Regions from separate parts of the Homo sapiens genome. Here regions 2, 3, 4 and 5 are each linked to region 1. Evidence: promoter capture Hi-C in 16 types of primary human blood cells and fetal thymus (Javierre and others, 2016). All regions are on one chromosome and are shown on one strand. Each heading gives the region's core, a stretch centred on a gene start or on the middle of the fragment in contact. The rest is flanking DNA. Distances are from core to core; before and after follow the strand shown.

Evidence for each region. Contacts are between HindIII fragments. The CHiCAGO score rates a contact against its expected background, and 5 or more counts as called.
Region 2: a fragment that was not itself captured here is called in contact with the fragment with the promoter of TRA2B in region 1 in 3 of 17 cell types (naive CD8 T cells, total B cells and naive CD4 T cells); the score reaches 7.0 in naive CD8 T cells.
Region 3: a fragment that was not itself captured here is called in contact with the fragment with the promoter of TRA2B in region 1 in 2 of 17 cell types (activated CD4 T cells and naive CD8 T cells); the score reaches 5.5 in activated CD4 T cells.
Region 4: a contact is called between a fragment that was not itself captured here and the fragment with the promoter of TRA2B in region 1, in 1 of 17 cell types (activated CD4 T cells). The highest score is 8.4, in activated CD4 T cells.
Region 5: a contact is called between a fragment that was not itself captured here and the fragment with the promoter of TRA2B in region 1, in 1 of 17 cell types (activated CD4 T cells). The highest score is 6.7, in activated CD4 T cells.

What each region holds. Positions count from the first base shown.
Region 1 is chr3:185,936,749-185,939,719 of GRCh38, forward strand. TRA2B (transformer 2 beta homolog) reads right to left here and starts at 1,266. Exons shown (of 9, transcript NM_004593.3): 1 at 1,077-1,266. The coding sequence starts at 1,112. RefSeq lists enhancers at 488-697, 600-1,327, 738-1,197. The HindIII fragment of the contact is 7,639 bases long and covers 1-2,971 here.
Region 2 is chr3:187,136,817-187,139,930 of GRCh38, forward strand. It overlaps RPL39L (ribosomal protein L39 like), which reads right to left and starts at 2,680. Exons shown (of 3, transcript NM_052969.3): 1 at 2,397-2,680. RefSeq lists enhancers at 196-696, 1,886-2,392, 2,261-2,360, 2,401-2,550 and a silencer at 2,591-2,820. The HindIII fragment of the contact is 4,719 bases long and covers 1-3,114 here.
Region 3 is chr3:187,038,948-187,042,092 of GRCh38, forward strand. The region is part of intron 3 of ST6GAL1 (ST6 beta-galactoside alpha-2,6-sialyltransferase 1); the gene reads left to right. Among named protein-coding and RNA genes, the nearest start is that of RPL39L, 99 kb to the right of the region's middle. RefSeq lists an enhancer at 2,887-2,956. The HindIII fragment of the contact is 1,118 bases long and covers 692-1,809 here.
Region 4 is chr3:187,062,686-187,065,775 of GRCh38, forward strand. All of the region lies in intron 5 of ST6GAL1 (ST6 beta-galactoside alpha-2,6-sialyltransferase 1), which reads left to right. Among named protein-coding and RNA genes, the nearest start is that of RPL39L, 75 kb to the right of the region's middle. RefSeq lists an enhancer at 2,949-3,090. The HindIII fragment of the contact is 2,549 bases long and covers 433-2,981 here.
Region 5 is chr3:187,121,023-187,124,139 of GRCh38, forward strand. It overlaps RPL39L (ribosomal protein L39 like), which reads right to left. Exons shown (of 3, transcript NM_052969.3): 3 at 1-306. The coding sequence starts at 278. The coding sequence ends at 123. It also overlaps the pseudogene RPL39P19. Among named protein-coding and RNA genes, the nearest start is that of RPL39L, 17 kb to the right of the region's middle. The HindIII fragment of the contact is 3,064 bases long and covers 1-3,002 here.

The DNA of each region.
Region 1 (2,971 bases), core at 16-2,515:
CCCTTCTAACAGATTCCTCTTAATTCTAGCAAGCCTCGTATGTTCGCATCATTCAATGCTTTCCGAATCCAATACCCAGAGCCCCACAGACCAGCTACGTATGCTGTTTAAACCCTAGAACTGTCTTGTTCCCGCAATTCAATCAACCCTCACTGAACACCTTTAAGAGGTGGAAACTTAAGGGAAAGAAAACTGTAGCCAACACACGCTGTGGTTCTAAGTATTAGAACGCCTCAAAACAAAGGAAATAACGGCGCCGTAAATGGTTGCCCGCCAATTTCTCCTTCACAATCCCGTGGAAATGCGATGTCCACAAAATCATCTTAACGACTTTGTGGTCTGTCCTAATAGAATACTGATACAGATTTTTGCCTGGGAAGCCCTTTCGGCATCAGAGAAAAGCGCTTCATTTAGGCCAAACACAAAGCCCTCACGCAATCCCCTCCACCTAACGGGCCCAGAACTTAGTCGGCCTTGGATTAGTTTCCATCTTAAGAGGCCCCAAAGACATCCCAGACTCCGTCCTTTCCGTGGAGGCAAAGACGGTCCTTCGTTAACCTAAACACCGGCCCAAAGACCCAAAAGAACGTCGTCTGTCCCCTTGCACCCCACCACGCGGCCTTACGAAGCGCGGCCCGCTGCGGGTCGGGTCCGCGTTGCCGCGCGGCTTCTCCGCCATTTTGTGCCTCTGGCAGCTCGCCCAGCCCGCCAGCCCAAGATGGCTGCGGCGGACCTTCGCAGGAGAGCAACGCCGAAATAAGATATCGCTCCCCTCCCCCAACACCGCGGGGACGCAGCGGCCATTTTCATCTTCCCCCTCTTATAACGGGAAAAACGGCCGTCTCGGGCAGAAGCCACATAAACCCGCCGGGGGCCTCCCTCCTTCACGACCAAAGGCACTAAGGCACTATCCACAAAGGCTTTTTTTGGTTAAATGCTGTCTCCCTTGCCTGCCCTCCCGGCTTCAGACTTCGGAGCCTAAAACGCCCCTGCCTCCTGGCCCGAGGCCGACGGGCCTAGAAAAAGATGCAAGGAGCTAGGACCACACAGCCACCCCCTACCGCAGCTCTACGTACCCGCTCGCCGTAGTTCTGCTCGCCGCTGTCGCTCATGACTCCTGGCTGCTGTCGCCGGTCGATGTGCTTCAATCGAAGCTGCCAACCTCTTGCACCTTCCTTAAGGAGGCTCCGCCGCAGCCCCGCACGACGCGCCGGTCGCCCAGCCGCTCAGAGCCGAAATGCTCCGCACCGCCTCCGCACGGGCTCTAACTCTACCGGATGTGACGCGGCGCTCCTTAGCCAGGCTCCTCCCCTCCCAGAAACGCGCGCTTTCTTGGCCTCGCCCCTCCTCGCTCTGCCTTTCCTCTCCAGCTGCAGCGCGTCCCGCACAGGAAGTGACGTGACCCCGCCCCTCGCAGGGCCCCACCCCCATTCACGAGCCTCTATGAGGCGGGAAAGCTAGCGTGTCGTTTGGCTGCTGTAGTGGGCGCCACGGAGCCACAGTGATGTCACCAGCCACTTCTGAATCCCTTCTAGAACTTTCCAGGGAACCTGCCGAGTGTGCAGGGAGGAAGGAGATGCTGTTTCCCCCAATCTCAATTCCTTTCTCCGCCTTATTAGTTTCTTGTTTTGTGTCTTTCCTTTGTTAGAGAAGTGAATGTTCGTACATTGGGTTCTTACTTAATTTTGTCTTACTTGTAGATATTTCCTTCCTGAATACGTCTTCATTTAAAAAAGGTCAGATCGGGCTGGGCGCGCTGGCTCACGCTGTAATCCTAGCACTTTGGGAGGCCGAGACGGGTGGATCACGAGGTCAGGAGATCGAAACCATTCTGGCTAACCCAGTGAAACTCCGTCTCTACTAAAAATACAAAAAAATTAGCCAGGCGCGGTGGCGGGCGCCTGTAGTCCCAGCTACTTGGGAGGCTGAGGCAGGAGAATGGCGTGAACCCAGGAGGCGGAGCTTGCAGTGAGCCGAGATCGCGCCACTGCACTCCAGCCTGGGCAATAGAGCGAGATTCCGTCTCAAAAAAAAAAAAAAAAAAAAAAAAAGGTCAGATCGGCTGGGTGCGGTGGCTCACGCCTGTAATCCCAGCACTTTGAGAGGCCGAGGCAGGCGGATCACATGGTCAGGAGTTCGAGACCAGCCTGGCCAACATGGTGAAACCCAGTCTTTACTAAAAATACAAAAAAATTAGCCGGGAGTGGTGATGCATGCCTGTAATCCCAGCCACTCGGGAGGCTGAGGCAGGAGAATCGCTTGAACCCGGGAGGCGGAGGTTGCAGTGAGCCGAGATCGGACCGCTGCACTCCAGCCTGGGCGACAGAGCGAGACTCTGTCTAAAAAATAAATAAATAAAAATAAAAAAGGTCGGACCTTAATACACAGGAATCAGACACAATCTCTATTCTAAAGTTACAAAGTAATGTGCTAGAACCGTTAAACACAATTAGAAAAAATGATTGTAAGTGCCAGAGGCATGTATAACTACAGGGGTGTCACAAGGAGGGAAGATTAATTCTGCCATTTCGTAAGAGAATATAGTTGGATTATAGTGAGAAGAGCCCAAGACCAAGTCGGATACTTTCTTTCTTCTTTTTTTTGAGACGGAGTCTTGCTTTGTCGCTCAGACTGGAGTGCAACGGCGCGATCTCGGCTCACTGCAACGTCTGCCTCCCGGGTTCAAGTGATTCTCCGCCTCAGCCTCCGTAGCAGCTGGAATTACAGGCGCCTGCCAACACGCCAGGCTAATTTTTTGTATTTTTTATAGAGACGGAGTTTTGGCATATTGGCCAGGCTGGTCTCCTGGGCTCAAGCGATCCTCCCACCTCGGCCTCCCAAAGTGTTGGGATTACAGGCGTGAGCCACTTCCCCCAACCCCCAAGTCGGATACTTAATTCCTCTACACTTCAGTCTCCCCATCCATTGAAAAGGTGGTACCTGGCTGATGAGGCACTTTGATACTGGTAAA
Region 2 (3,114 bases), core at 449-2,948, 1.2 Mb after region 1:
AATTAATTTGAATATATTTTATTTAATCTGATTTATTTAAAATACCATTTAAGCATGTAATTAATATAAAGGTGGATAAAATATTTTAAATTAAAAAGGAGACTTTAGGCTGAGTGCAGTGGCTCACACTTGTAATCCTAACATTTTGGGAGGCGAGAGGATTGCTTCAACTCAGGAGTTTGAGATCAGCCCGAGTATGTTTCTCATAGTGAGACCTCATCTCTACAAAAAAATTTAAAAATTAGCTGGGCATGGTGGTGCATGCCTGTGATCGGGAGGCTGAGGCAGCAAGAGGATGGCTTGAGCCGAGGAGATGAGGTTGTAGTGAGTCATGATTGAGTCAATGCACTCCAGCTTGGGCAACAGAACAACACTCTTCCTCAAAAAAAAAAAAAAAAAAAAAAAAAAGTGTCAGGTGCAGTGGCTCACACCTGTAATCCCAGCATTTTGGGAGGCCAAAATGCTCAGGATCACCTGAGGTCAGGAGTTCCAGACCAGCCTGGCCAACATGGTGAAACCCCGTCTCTACTAAAAATACAAAATAATTAGACAGCGTGGTGGCACATGCCTGTAGTCCCAGCTACTTGGGGAGGTGAGGCAGGAGGATCACCTGAACCCGGGAGGCGGAGGCTGCAGTGAGCCGAGGTTGCACCACTGCACTCCAGCCTGGGCAACAGAGTAAGACTCCGTCTTCAAAAAAGAAAAAGAAAAATTGGCCGGGTGCGGTGGCTCACGCCTGCAATCCCAGCACTTTGGGAGGCTGATGCGGGCAGATCATCTGAGGTCAGGAATTCGAGACCAGCCTGGCCAACCATGGCCAACATGGTGAAACCCCGTCTTTACTAAAAATACAAAAATTAGCCGGGTGTGGTGGCAGGCACAGCTACCACAATCCCAGCTACTCGGGAGGCTGAGACGGGAGAATCACTTGAACCCAGGCAGCAGAAGTTGCAGTGAGCCAGGATTGCGCCACTGCACTCCAGCGACAGAAGGATACTCCGTCTCAAAAAAAAAAAAAAAGGAAAAAAAGAGACTTTAAAAGCTGGTGTGCGTTTTAACATTTGTAGCACATCTTTTTTCAGACCAGCCACATTTCAAGTGCTGAATAGCTACATGTGATTCAATGAGCTTTGGTCAGCTCAGCTTTACAACCTCTCAGGTTCTTTCTCTAAGCAAACTCTCTTAGGTTCTGAAATTGAGAAGGCGTGGAGGGTGACTATTGGATTACAAAGCCTTTATGATTCCAACAACTCTCAGTTAATAGAAGCATCCGTCCTGTCTCTTGATGTCCTAGTGACTAAAGACATGTCTAGAGAAGAAACTCTTTTAACTATATTTTTATATAGTTACATGACAGCCTTTGAGAAAATTGAGAATTAAGGCCAGGCCCAGTGCAAAATGAAAATGTTGTGGAGGTGGCGGGGAGGGGAGGCGGGTGCTGGTTTAAAAATTAAGAATTTCAAGATTGCCATAGCAGAGCAAGAAAGTAAGTACAGGGCCCTTCTGAGCCCTATGTGACTGCACGGGTGGGACCCTTTTGAAGCTAGTCCTGGTCAGGGTTTATGTCTCTGGATGAATCCAGATGTGTAAAAGGCAAGGAAGTGGCGAGATTCCTTGGGCTATCTTTGAGAAACGGGGACCTTAAAGGAGACTGCAAAATCTTACCTACTGGAATTAATGGAGGAAAAGAAAGTGTTTGCGCCTGTGAGAACGCCTTGGAAAGAGGCAGTGAGCAGATGAGGCAGATAGGTAAGACACTTGGTTTTGCTGATTAAACCACTGATGAATCAGTGCCACTCACATCCTGGGTAATTCTAGGGACACTAGTTGGACAACGCTGACATCTGAAGAGGTGGCAGGGCGGAACATGGATCCCTTTAAGGCTACTTTATTGTCGATTTCCTCCTTCTCTAAGCTAGAAACAGGGGGTGCCTGAGTGGCCTCCAGAAGCCACTACTGTAGGCCAGGAGCAGTGCCTCACGCCTGTAATCCCAGCACTTTGGGAGGCCGAGGCGGGCGGATCACCTGAGGTCGGGAGTTCGAGACTGGTGTGACCAATATGGTGAAACCCGTCTTTACTAAAAATACAAAAATTAGCCGAGTGTGGTGGCGCGCGCCTGTAACCCCAGCTACTCAGGAGGCTAAGGCGGGAGAATCGCTTGAATCCGGAGGCGGAGGTTGCAGTGAGCCGAGATCACACCACTGCACTCCAGCCTGGGCGACGGAGGGAGACCCTGTCTCAAAAAACAAACAAACAAACAAACAAACAAAAACGCTACTACTGTTGGAGTCGGCTTGAGCTGTGGCATTGTTGTTTCCAGCCCGTGACCCTCACGCCGCCCTGCTCGTTGGGCGGACCGGGCCCTGGCGGCGGGTGAGGAGGAACCTTTACTTACCGGCGCCCTGGCCTCTGCTTTTTTCCCACTCTAGGACGCAAATCTCGATCTGCAAGGGCCTGGGGCGCGGGCGGAAAAGGCGGGCCCAGCTCCCTCAGGTCTGCGTGTCACCGACCCGAACCCGCTCCGTCGTCCTGACGCCCCCGGCCTAGCTGCAGCCACCTTGTCGCAGGGGCCTTGGTGTCTCTGAGACTCCGAGACGCCTCGCCCCCACCTGGCGTTCGGAGGCGGTTGCCTCGCTGGGCGCAGCAATTCAACCGCCGCGCGCCGGATGCTAAGACCGCGATTTCCCCGGATGCTAGGGCGGTGATTTCCCCCGTGACAGGCCCCGCCCCGGCCCCGCCCAGGCCCGGGCGGTCCCGCCCCACTGAGCTGTGGCTCGGGGAGCCGTGGGTCCGACTCCTGCGTGTGATGTGTCACCAAGTTGACTTTGGGGTCCCCCATTCTTCCTTAGTTCTCTATTTTACCTCAGCGCGTTGTCTAGCTGCTGCCTGGCCACGGTACTTAGCACACAGCGTGACTTAATACTGGATAAACGAGGAAAGGATTCGTACGCCCTGGCGGGGCCAGAGGCTCACAGCTTGGGTTCCCGCGAGCACACGAGCCAGGAACCGCCAATGCCTCCAGGGGGCGCTCTCCCTCCCATCGAGCCACCGCCGGGCCATTGGAGACCAGGAGGACCTCTCAGCTCCATCCCTGCGTCTCTAACAATTGTCTC
Region 3 (3,145 bases), core at 1-2,500, 1.1 Mb after region 1:
GCAGGGAATCTCAGGATCTCAGTATCTGGCTCCAGCTTTGCTGTTTTCTTTTTGTATGTATTTTTTAGTCCTCTTTAACTGCTGATTCAATGTGGGTTTCATTGGGGGGTGTAGAGAAATGGCTTGTCCATTTCTATTAACTATATAAGATTTAAGTTATTCTGTATTTCAGTCAACCATTCTGAGTACCTACTACCTGCCACGAATGCAACTGGTACTGAGTATGTCATGACGGGTGGGTCGGGACAGGATTTCCTTGCTTTGAGCATTGATTTCTGCCGGTTCAGTGTTGGCCAGTTCTTTGAAGGTGATGATGCAAGTCGCTGTGTTCTTCCTCTAGAAGCCTCGTGATGATTGTAAAGATTCTCTGATACAATTGCATCAGTTCAATAATCTTTCATTGAGTATCCGCTCTGGTCCAGGCACTGTGCTGGGTACTAGGGTTTCAGAAAGGATACCAGGAGGAGTTTTCCTTGAGCAGCAAAGTCAGGCATGAAAAGCAAGCATTACAAAGCACTGGCTGGCAGCAAAGGGGAGCAGGGATAGTGCGGAAGGGGAGGTGGCCTCCACTGACCTTCAGAAGCAGAAAGGTGATGCTGTCAGAGCTGGCAGGCACATGGACAAGGAGAAAGAGTGCAGCAGTGCAGACACCTGGAGGCTTAACACAGTCTGGTGTAATTGGAAAATTCAAAGCTTAGTGTGTTTTTCCAAAACATTTGTAGAGAAAAGTTTGCTACTCTTTTCCCTCGGTTGCGCCATTTAGAGAAAGTTTCTTCAGCCTCTGCCTTCTTCAGACAATTTGAGAGATGAGAAAGGGTCTTGCAGTTATAAGTGCCTGTGACCAGAAACTCCAGCCACCTGGTGGACTTGGAGCCTCAACCAAGGGTGGTGTCAAGGGACCACATGAGCCCTTATGTGAGATTTCAGATGAGTGCCCTGAGGCCATGACAGAGCACAGGCTGTGAAGGCTGAGGCTGTCTGATGGTTGCAAGACTGTCGCTAGACCCAGCTGTTTGGAGGAACTCTTCTTTCCTGGGAAACCACACCTTGGAGAGTAGGTACTGGGCAGCTGCTGCCTGAGCCTCCACTCCTGTGACAGTGAATCAGGCCCTTCCTGCCATCTTGTTTCATTCAGACATGTGAAAGTCAGGTTCTAAGTCCACTATTTCCAAATCACTCATGCAACTTTGAAAATTATTTGTATTTCCAAACCTCACTATACTCAGCTATAAATGGAGCTCATAAAATCTGCTGTGCTTATCTCACGGGAGTATAATAGGTCTGTAAAACCTTACCAATACGGAAAGTACCTGAGTGTTACCACTCAGTGCACAGCAGGGATGGCAGGTGCAGCACTGATGGTGAAGGTGGCTTGTCTGCGACTGTCTGACAGACGAAGTTGCCTCTCTAGTGACCTTGAGTCCGACTTGATCACACTGACTTCTCACTGTCCCTTATCACAGATGCATGTCCTTGGGTGGAAAGATGATGAACTTTTAGAGTCAGACAGACCTGGGCTGGAATTCTGGTTCTAGAACTGACTTGCTGTTGACATTGGAGAAACCCTATAACCTTGCTAAGTCTCAGTTTTTTCCATTTCCTAAAATAGGATTGTCAATATCTCTATCATAGTGTTGTAGTAAAGGTTCAATGAGATATTGCAAGGAAAGTGACTACCACGTAGTAGGCCCTCCTTAAATGCTACTTTCCTTCTTTTCTCTAGTTCTTCTTCAGTTGTCATATGGTCATGTGATTACCTGTGTTGGGTGTCTGCGGAAATTGAATTCCTTAGTTTCTGGTAATACAACAAGCTTCCACCCTTCACTTCATGATCTTCTATCTGAATTCTTCTTCCACTGTGTACATTTAATCATTTCCACAACTTCAGCAGCCCAAGATAGGAGCCCATCGTTCCCAGAGTCACTGGTTCCTGAGGTCTGGGATGGTGGAAGCACTGCTTTGGTTGGTACTGCCAATGGATTCCAGGAATGAGCTGGATGTCAGTTCATGGAGAATTCCCAGGGAAGAGCCTGGAGCTCAGGGCTGCTGAGTCATGGCTGTGGCTTCACACTGCTGTCTTCACTACCCGTATCACCTCCACATGGCCCCCAGGCTGAGCTGCTGCTCTCCTGTCTCTGTTCAGAATACCTTCTGTGCCTTTTTGCTTATCTAGTTCAAATCCAATGAATACCATGCTCTTGTTTTGCCCTCCCAACACTCTGCAAATCACATAGGGCAGAGATAATTATTCTGAAAAACTCAGGGGCAGAAATATTAAGTGACCTGCCCAAGGTCACCAAGAATGGGGATAAGAACCCAGGTTTTGTGAACACCCAGTCCAGTACTCCTACTACCTTTTCCTGATATCCTTAGGAGCGGGATCCATGGGAAGGGACCTCAGACCCCTAGTGGGTTAGCAAAACCCCGGAGGTGATTGCTTTGATTTATTATTGTAAATAAACCCAGTGATTGGGGAAAGAATGTAATGTTTTCCAAAAGATACAGACATTATTTGAGTTCAAAGTGCTTCCAGTTTCCATTCAGTTACACAATAAATTCTGAGAAAACAAAGTAGGTGTTTACTCAGAAATAAAGAGACTATTCAGTCTCTATTTGCTCAGTGAAATCTATTTTCCAGAGCTTCTTGCAGTTCTGTGCATGTTGTACTGGAAAGGACATGGGTTATGGAATCAAATCCACTTCGATTTGAACCTCAGTGCAACCATTTCCTCAGCTCTGTGAGCTTGGGCACTTCCCTTGACTTCTTAGAGCCTCAGGTTGCTAATCCATAAAATGGAGATTATAACACCTTTGAAGTGAACCCTGTACAGGTTAGGAGATGCCCTTCGTATTAGACTATGCTATGCGTGGTGCCCCCAGAGTTGTGTCTCATGGTGGCCCTGGTTATGGTGAAGTTAAGTGAAATAACATCTAGCGTGCTTAATGAATTTTTGTTTCCATTTCCTTAGTTGGCTACATGTCTGCTATCTTACCCAGAATTCCTAGCCTCTATCATGAGGTGAGTCAGCTTCCTGTCTCAGCAGTGCTCTTCTTGCAGGGCACTGCACAAAACTGTGGTGGAGATAACCCTCGATCTTCTCATGCAGGAGTCCAGCATCGCAGCCCTTAGAGAGATACATCAGAA
Region 4 (3,090 bases), core at 457-2,956, 1.1 Mb after region 1:
TTCAATTTTGCAAGACTGAAAAAGTTTTGGAGATGGTTTGTGGTGATAGTTGCACAACAATACAAATGTACTTAATATCACTGAACTGTACACTTAAAAATGGTTAAGATAGTCAATGTTATGTTATATGTATTTTAATACAATTTTTAAATTGGAAAAAATGTCAGTAGGGGAGACAGTCACAGAAGTACAAACACTGTATGATTCCACTTTATATGGAACACCTGGAGTAGAAACAAAGTAGAATGATGTTTGCCAAGGGCTAGGAGGAGAAAGGAATGTGGAATTGTTGTTTAATGAATACTGTGATTCATTTTGGGAAGCTGAAAAAGTTCTGGAGATGGTGGTGATAGTTACACAACAATAGGAATGTACTAAGCTGAATACTTAAAGTTGCTAAAATGGTCAATTTTATGTTATGTATATTTTAAAAGCTTTCTTTTAAATCAACAGGGAGAAACCAGTTGATAGAGGGAGAAAGTGAATATACTAAAAAGAGGAGAAAATGATTAGTTACCCACAACATGATGGTGGTGGAGCCAAAGCGTAGTGGAGGATGAACCCCAGCAGGCGGGAGTCAGAGGGAAGAAGGTGCGAGTGGTGTAGCTGGAGGCAGTCAGTATTAGAAGGATGAGAGGGCTTCTATTTTCTCTGCAAAGTGGCATGCAAGGCCAAGTCAGAAGGAGGCTGAGGGGGAAAGAGGTTTTAGTAGAGAAGGTTTGAACAAAGAGATTTATAATTGTCATTGAGGTGAGTGGGACCGTCAGTAAACCTGATGAATGGAGTAGGATTTCCAGGCCATGCTGGGCTACTTTGAGGTTGAAGAGAATGAATTTAGAGAGAAACCAATCTCTGTTTGATACATGGATGGTAGGATCTGGAGGTGAGCAGGCAGCAGCAAAGAGGAGAGGGGAGAGGGGAGGAGCCCTCCCTGAGCACTCTCTTGGACTGCGGAGGCTACCTACTCTCTGAGCACTTCTTCGTGATGATTCAGTCTTCCTCACTGTGAAGAACGAAACCCCAGTCCTGCAAAGATTTGAAACTGTATTTAAGGCCAAAGTAAGGTTGCCTGGGAATTAAGAGTACTGGAGTCAGGCAGGCTTTGATCAGATCCCTCCCCCAACACTTCCTGTGTGAGTGACTTCAGCAAGTTGCTTTACTTTACCTTTCTGAGCCTCATTTCCCTTACTTGTAACACAGAAATATGAATAGTTACTATCCAGGGTTTTTTTTTAGGATCAAAGGAGTTACTATGTGTGGAGCATGTCACCCAGAGGCTGGTATGCAGCAAGTGCTTTGTAAATAGTAGCGATGGGCACTACTGAAACCTGAATGTCTGCCTCTGCCTGTTTGCGAATGACTCCACCTTCCCAAATCCCAACAGGGAAGGTGAGTCAGCTTGAGACCACTTGAGAGGCATCTAGCAGAAGGGAGGCAAAACTTCTGTTAAAGGATAATTTTTAGGGAAAAAAAGGTAAGATGATGACTCTCATACAGATATTAAAAATGAATTCATCATGAAGATTTTATTTTACTCGTATGATGGAACCAGGCAGATATTACAACTGGTTCAAAGGAAAAGTCAAAGCAACACAAATTTGGAGTAAAGGAGTTGAACTAGTTTTTCTGTGAGATAAGGCAGGGGGAGGGGAGAAATCAATTGAAACTCTCCTGGGCAGCATCCTGCCCAGTAGGCACATGTATTAGTTGCCTACAATTCACAAAGGGTTGCGAAATAGCTCCCGTGGAATCAGAATCTGACAGGGAGGAAGAGTGTGCTCAGAAAATGCATGGCTTTCTACTGAAGCAGATTTTTTTCCCATTACACTTCTAGATCTCTGTGCACCATTGTGCCAGGGCTGCGAGGAAGGTGGCCCACTTCCCGGGATACACTACCCACCCTCAAGAGAGCCTTTCCTGCTGCTTCTTAGGCAAGTCAGCTCTCTTTTCTCACCTCCTGTAAGCAACACTAAGTATCTGGCTGTTCCTTTCGTACTCGAGTCCTGGCCGCTCCATGACAGCACTTGTGGTGGTACTGAACTGTGATGGACACTTTCTATCATTGCCCTTTCTTACCTTGATATCCTAAAAAGCTGGTGGTCTGTCTTCTCTATCTTTTGTCCTGGTCAGTTATCCTAACTATTTTGTGTCTGTTTCTGTGGATTAGTAAACGGGGTCCCCACCCCCACTCCACAAGGAGAACATCTGGCACCCAGAAGTCACTGAGAGAATAGCTGTTGCTTTGGTAGAATTCTGCCTCTGAGTGGCTTGTTCTTTTCCCAGACGGAGAGGTCTCCTGACAGCAGCTCTCTTCTTTTTCTTTTTTTTTTTTTTTGAGACAGAGTTTTGCTCTTGCGCTCAGGCTGGAGTGCAGTGGTGCACTCTCGGCTCCCTGCTCTGCCTCCTGGGTTCAAGTGATTCCCCTGCCTCGGTCTCCCAAGTAGCTGAGATTACAGGCATGCACCACCATGCCCAGCTAATTTTTTGTATTTTTAGTAGAGACAGGGTTTTGCCATGTTTGCCAGACTAGTCTCAAACTCCTGACCTCAGGTGATCCACCTGCCTCAGCCTCCCAAAGTGCTGGGATTACAGGCATGAGCCACTGCGCCTGGCTTTAGCAGCTCTCTTCTAAAGCCATCTGGACCCACATTTGTTCAGCTCCCCTCCCTTGGCCATGATGAAGGCATGCAAAACAAAAAAGGCACTTTTCTTATTGAGAAGGTGGCTTTTTATAGAGAATGGTGTCATACTGTTAGGTTTCAGGCCAGCAGACCTAGTCAGGCATGTGACACTTCTGTGCCAGGTGTGGCTATGAGAGTCAACAGGAAAAATGATATATGTAAATGGACAGGTCTTTAAATAAATGCAGTTTTGACTATAAGAGTAAGAAGGTTTCTGTGAGACTCAACTCAGTACCTCCTGTACCCTGTGGGCCTGAGAGAGGAGACAATGGGACAAGAAGACCCAGTGGCTTCCTTGGAAGCTTTTGTGCTAGCTGGAGAGAGAAGACCTACTTCCTATATGCCTAGCAACAGTCCACACTGACTGGACTGCAACCAGGACATTTCCAGATTACTCAGTGGGGCTTAT
Region 5 (3,117 bases), core at 221-2,720, 1.2 Mb after region 1:
AAAATATTCCCAGTAAAACATGTGCAACTGTCCAGGTAGTGGTGACATTTTCAGCTTGATATCGTAAGATGATCGTGAACTTGATACAGCATAAATATGTGTGCCATCTCATGTGCAATTCCTTATAGACCCAGCTTGGTTCTTCTCCAATGCCTCCTTTTGGAGTTGTACCTGATTTTACTACCAGGTTTCATCTGAATCCACTGGGGGATGGGACGATTTTGCTTTTGTTTCTTGGCCAGGAATCGCTTAATGGTGAAAGTCTTGTGAGAAGACATGGCGAGAAACAGAGTCAACCACACACCACTATGGCGGAGAAAGGGAGAGAGAGACAGAGACAATATTACCATAGGATAGGATAAGGTAACATGAAGAAATAACAAGACAAGAAAGAGGATCTTTAGTGCCACAGCGAGGGCTCATTGCCACTCAGGATCCCACAGGCAGCTCAGGAGCAGCTCAGGAGCCAGCAGCGGTCTGAGGAGTCTGATGGCTGTTCTGGTGGATCAGCAGCAAAGGCAGGAGTCCCTTTGTTCCTACTGTTCCTGACTTGATGCTACTCATTTCTCAGCAACATACTTCTGCTTCTCTTGTTAAATGTCCATCAAGAGGAATTATTTTCAACTTTAAAAAAGTTACGAACAGGTAATACCAGTTCATTACAGAAAAATTAAAGCAATAGAACACTAAAAAAAACTATTATCCCATCTAGCTAGAAAAAGCCCCAATATTAACAACTTGATATTATAAGAGCCTTCCAGTTAAGACAGATGTACATGCAGAATATTGTCTTTCTATAAATTGAGATATTGTAGATATTATTTTGTAACTACAACTTATCTAACTAATATGTGACCCTTTTTTGGCAACTCTTTCTCAATAACCCTTTACATTTGGAGGTCTTAAATCTTTTCCAGTGTCCTGCTATGGCAAATAGTACAGAACAGGAAAACATGGTTGAAAATAGAAACCTATAAAACAAGTAATTCATCCCCACAACACTTAAAATATGAATGTATACATTTAAAACATGCGATTTGCTGTAAAACTATCTCACGGTACTTTCATGTTACTACTATTTTAAAAGCCACTGGCTGTGCATACTAATATTTTTATCTAATTATCAAAATTGACCACATTGCCATCTACTGAATTGCATGCTACCACTCCATTTAAAGATCTTGGGTCCTCCATAATTAACGAACATCAACCTGGGGCCAGAGACACAGTAGTTATTTTTAATGATTCAGATGCAAAATAATGTCTACATCTCAGATTGTGAGAGTAATTACATGATGGCAGTAAAGTCTTACTGCAAACAGTGTTGGAGATATACAAACAGTATGGATCTGTCATGACAAAGGCATTTTTTTTTAACTCTAAGATAATGGGGATAGTGGTAGTGTGCAAAAAGTATGACTGTTTCTGACTGTCTGAGTTCACACACAGTGTCTAACCCAGTCTCTTCAGATGTGACCCAAGCTATTATCTTGGTTTCTGTCTTATGGCTCACTGTTGTGAGATGTTTATTCTATGTCTGGCATCTCCCCTAACATGCAGGCAGGAAGAAGAGAAAGAAAGAAAGAAAGGCAAAAGAGTACATGCTGTGAGGCTACCGGCTTTTAAGGAGCTTTACTAGGTATCTCTCTCAATACCTTTGATTACACCTTATTGGCAAGAACTGTGTTCCACTGCCATCCTTAGCAGTAATGAAGGATGGGCACTATAGTTTTTTAGCTGAGCACATGATGCCCCTAACCCCACACAAATCAGGTTCTGCTAAAGAAAAAGGAAGAAGAATGAATAGCAGAGTAGATAACTAGCAGTCTTTGCTATAACAATTTTGGAAAAGATAATTTAGGATACTTCTGTGAATTTCAGCTCTCAAAATAACCAAAAGAAAATAGAGGAAAATTTAAAAAAGAGAAAAAGGAAGTTCTCAATAGAAATACCTATTAGTCTAGGTATTGAAAAATGGGGTGGAAAAAAAGTCCAAATTGATGGGCAACCCATAAATATCATGGTAAGGAAATACCAGAAGAAATAAGAGTGCTAATTATACTGTCTGCCTTTCAACCCTAATATCCAAACTTCAGACACTTCTGAGACAACTGCCCTAGTGGGGAGGCCAGTGTCCCCAGATTTGTACATCTTCCCACTGGGAACTTTCAGGAGCAGGAGACTTTATGTGCAAGTAACAGATGAGTAGGCAACTAAGTTGGGGTATAGTGTGGGGTGTGGTTGAGATACAAATGTTTCATGAAATATAAAACATTGAAAACTAAGCCGCAAGTATCCTTGTAGGAGTCTACAGGTTACGAGAATAACAAATAGGCCTGAAAATGCCAAATGGGTGATAAAGATAGGGAAAGTACACTACTATTTCTGCCCAATCCTTTTATTTTCTTCCCATACATTAGCAGCAAAGAACTTTTAGCTACCAATCACAGTTCATCTTAAATTGACCACATGCTGACTTTAGCTAGCTATCTAGCAGACCCTGTTCTACCCTTTGTATATTAATTCCCTCTATACAATCTATCAGTGACTATTTGGCTCCAACCACTTCAGAAAAAAAGTCTTCAAGAATACAGGGAAAGAACTAGACTGGGTTGCCAACAAACCCAGAGTCTTAACACCCTCTCCCTTGGGAACCCTGGTTGTACTGGTTAGGGTTCTTGAAGCCAATCTTGTTTGAAAGTCTTCTGTAAGAAAAATCTACTGTAGTAAGATAAAGAACTACAGTAGGACAAATAGTTTACTGTACTATTCCAAGTATTCATTTCCAATGAAGAGGATGATAGTGTGCTCACCTCTGGAGACACTTTGGGCTAGAAGCTCTGACCAGGTATTTCCTGAAAGCTCAATGCCAGTGACATACAGCTCTTAGCTAGAACTAACTCTCATGGAAACTTTTAAAAAGAAACTCAAAGAGATATCTGCTATCTGCATTGGAGACAGTGAAAGAACTGAAAGAACTGGCTATAATGCCAACTGAAATAAGCTTATAGCCAGTAAGTCAGTAGTCCTCATTCTAGTACAATAGTAATGGTTATGAGGGCAGTTTTACCTTAAAAGGAATGATTACACTTAGGAATTGCCCCACACATCTCAGGT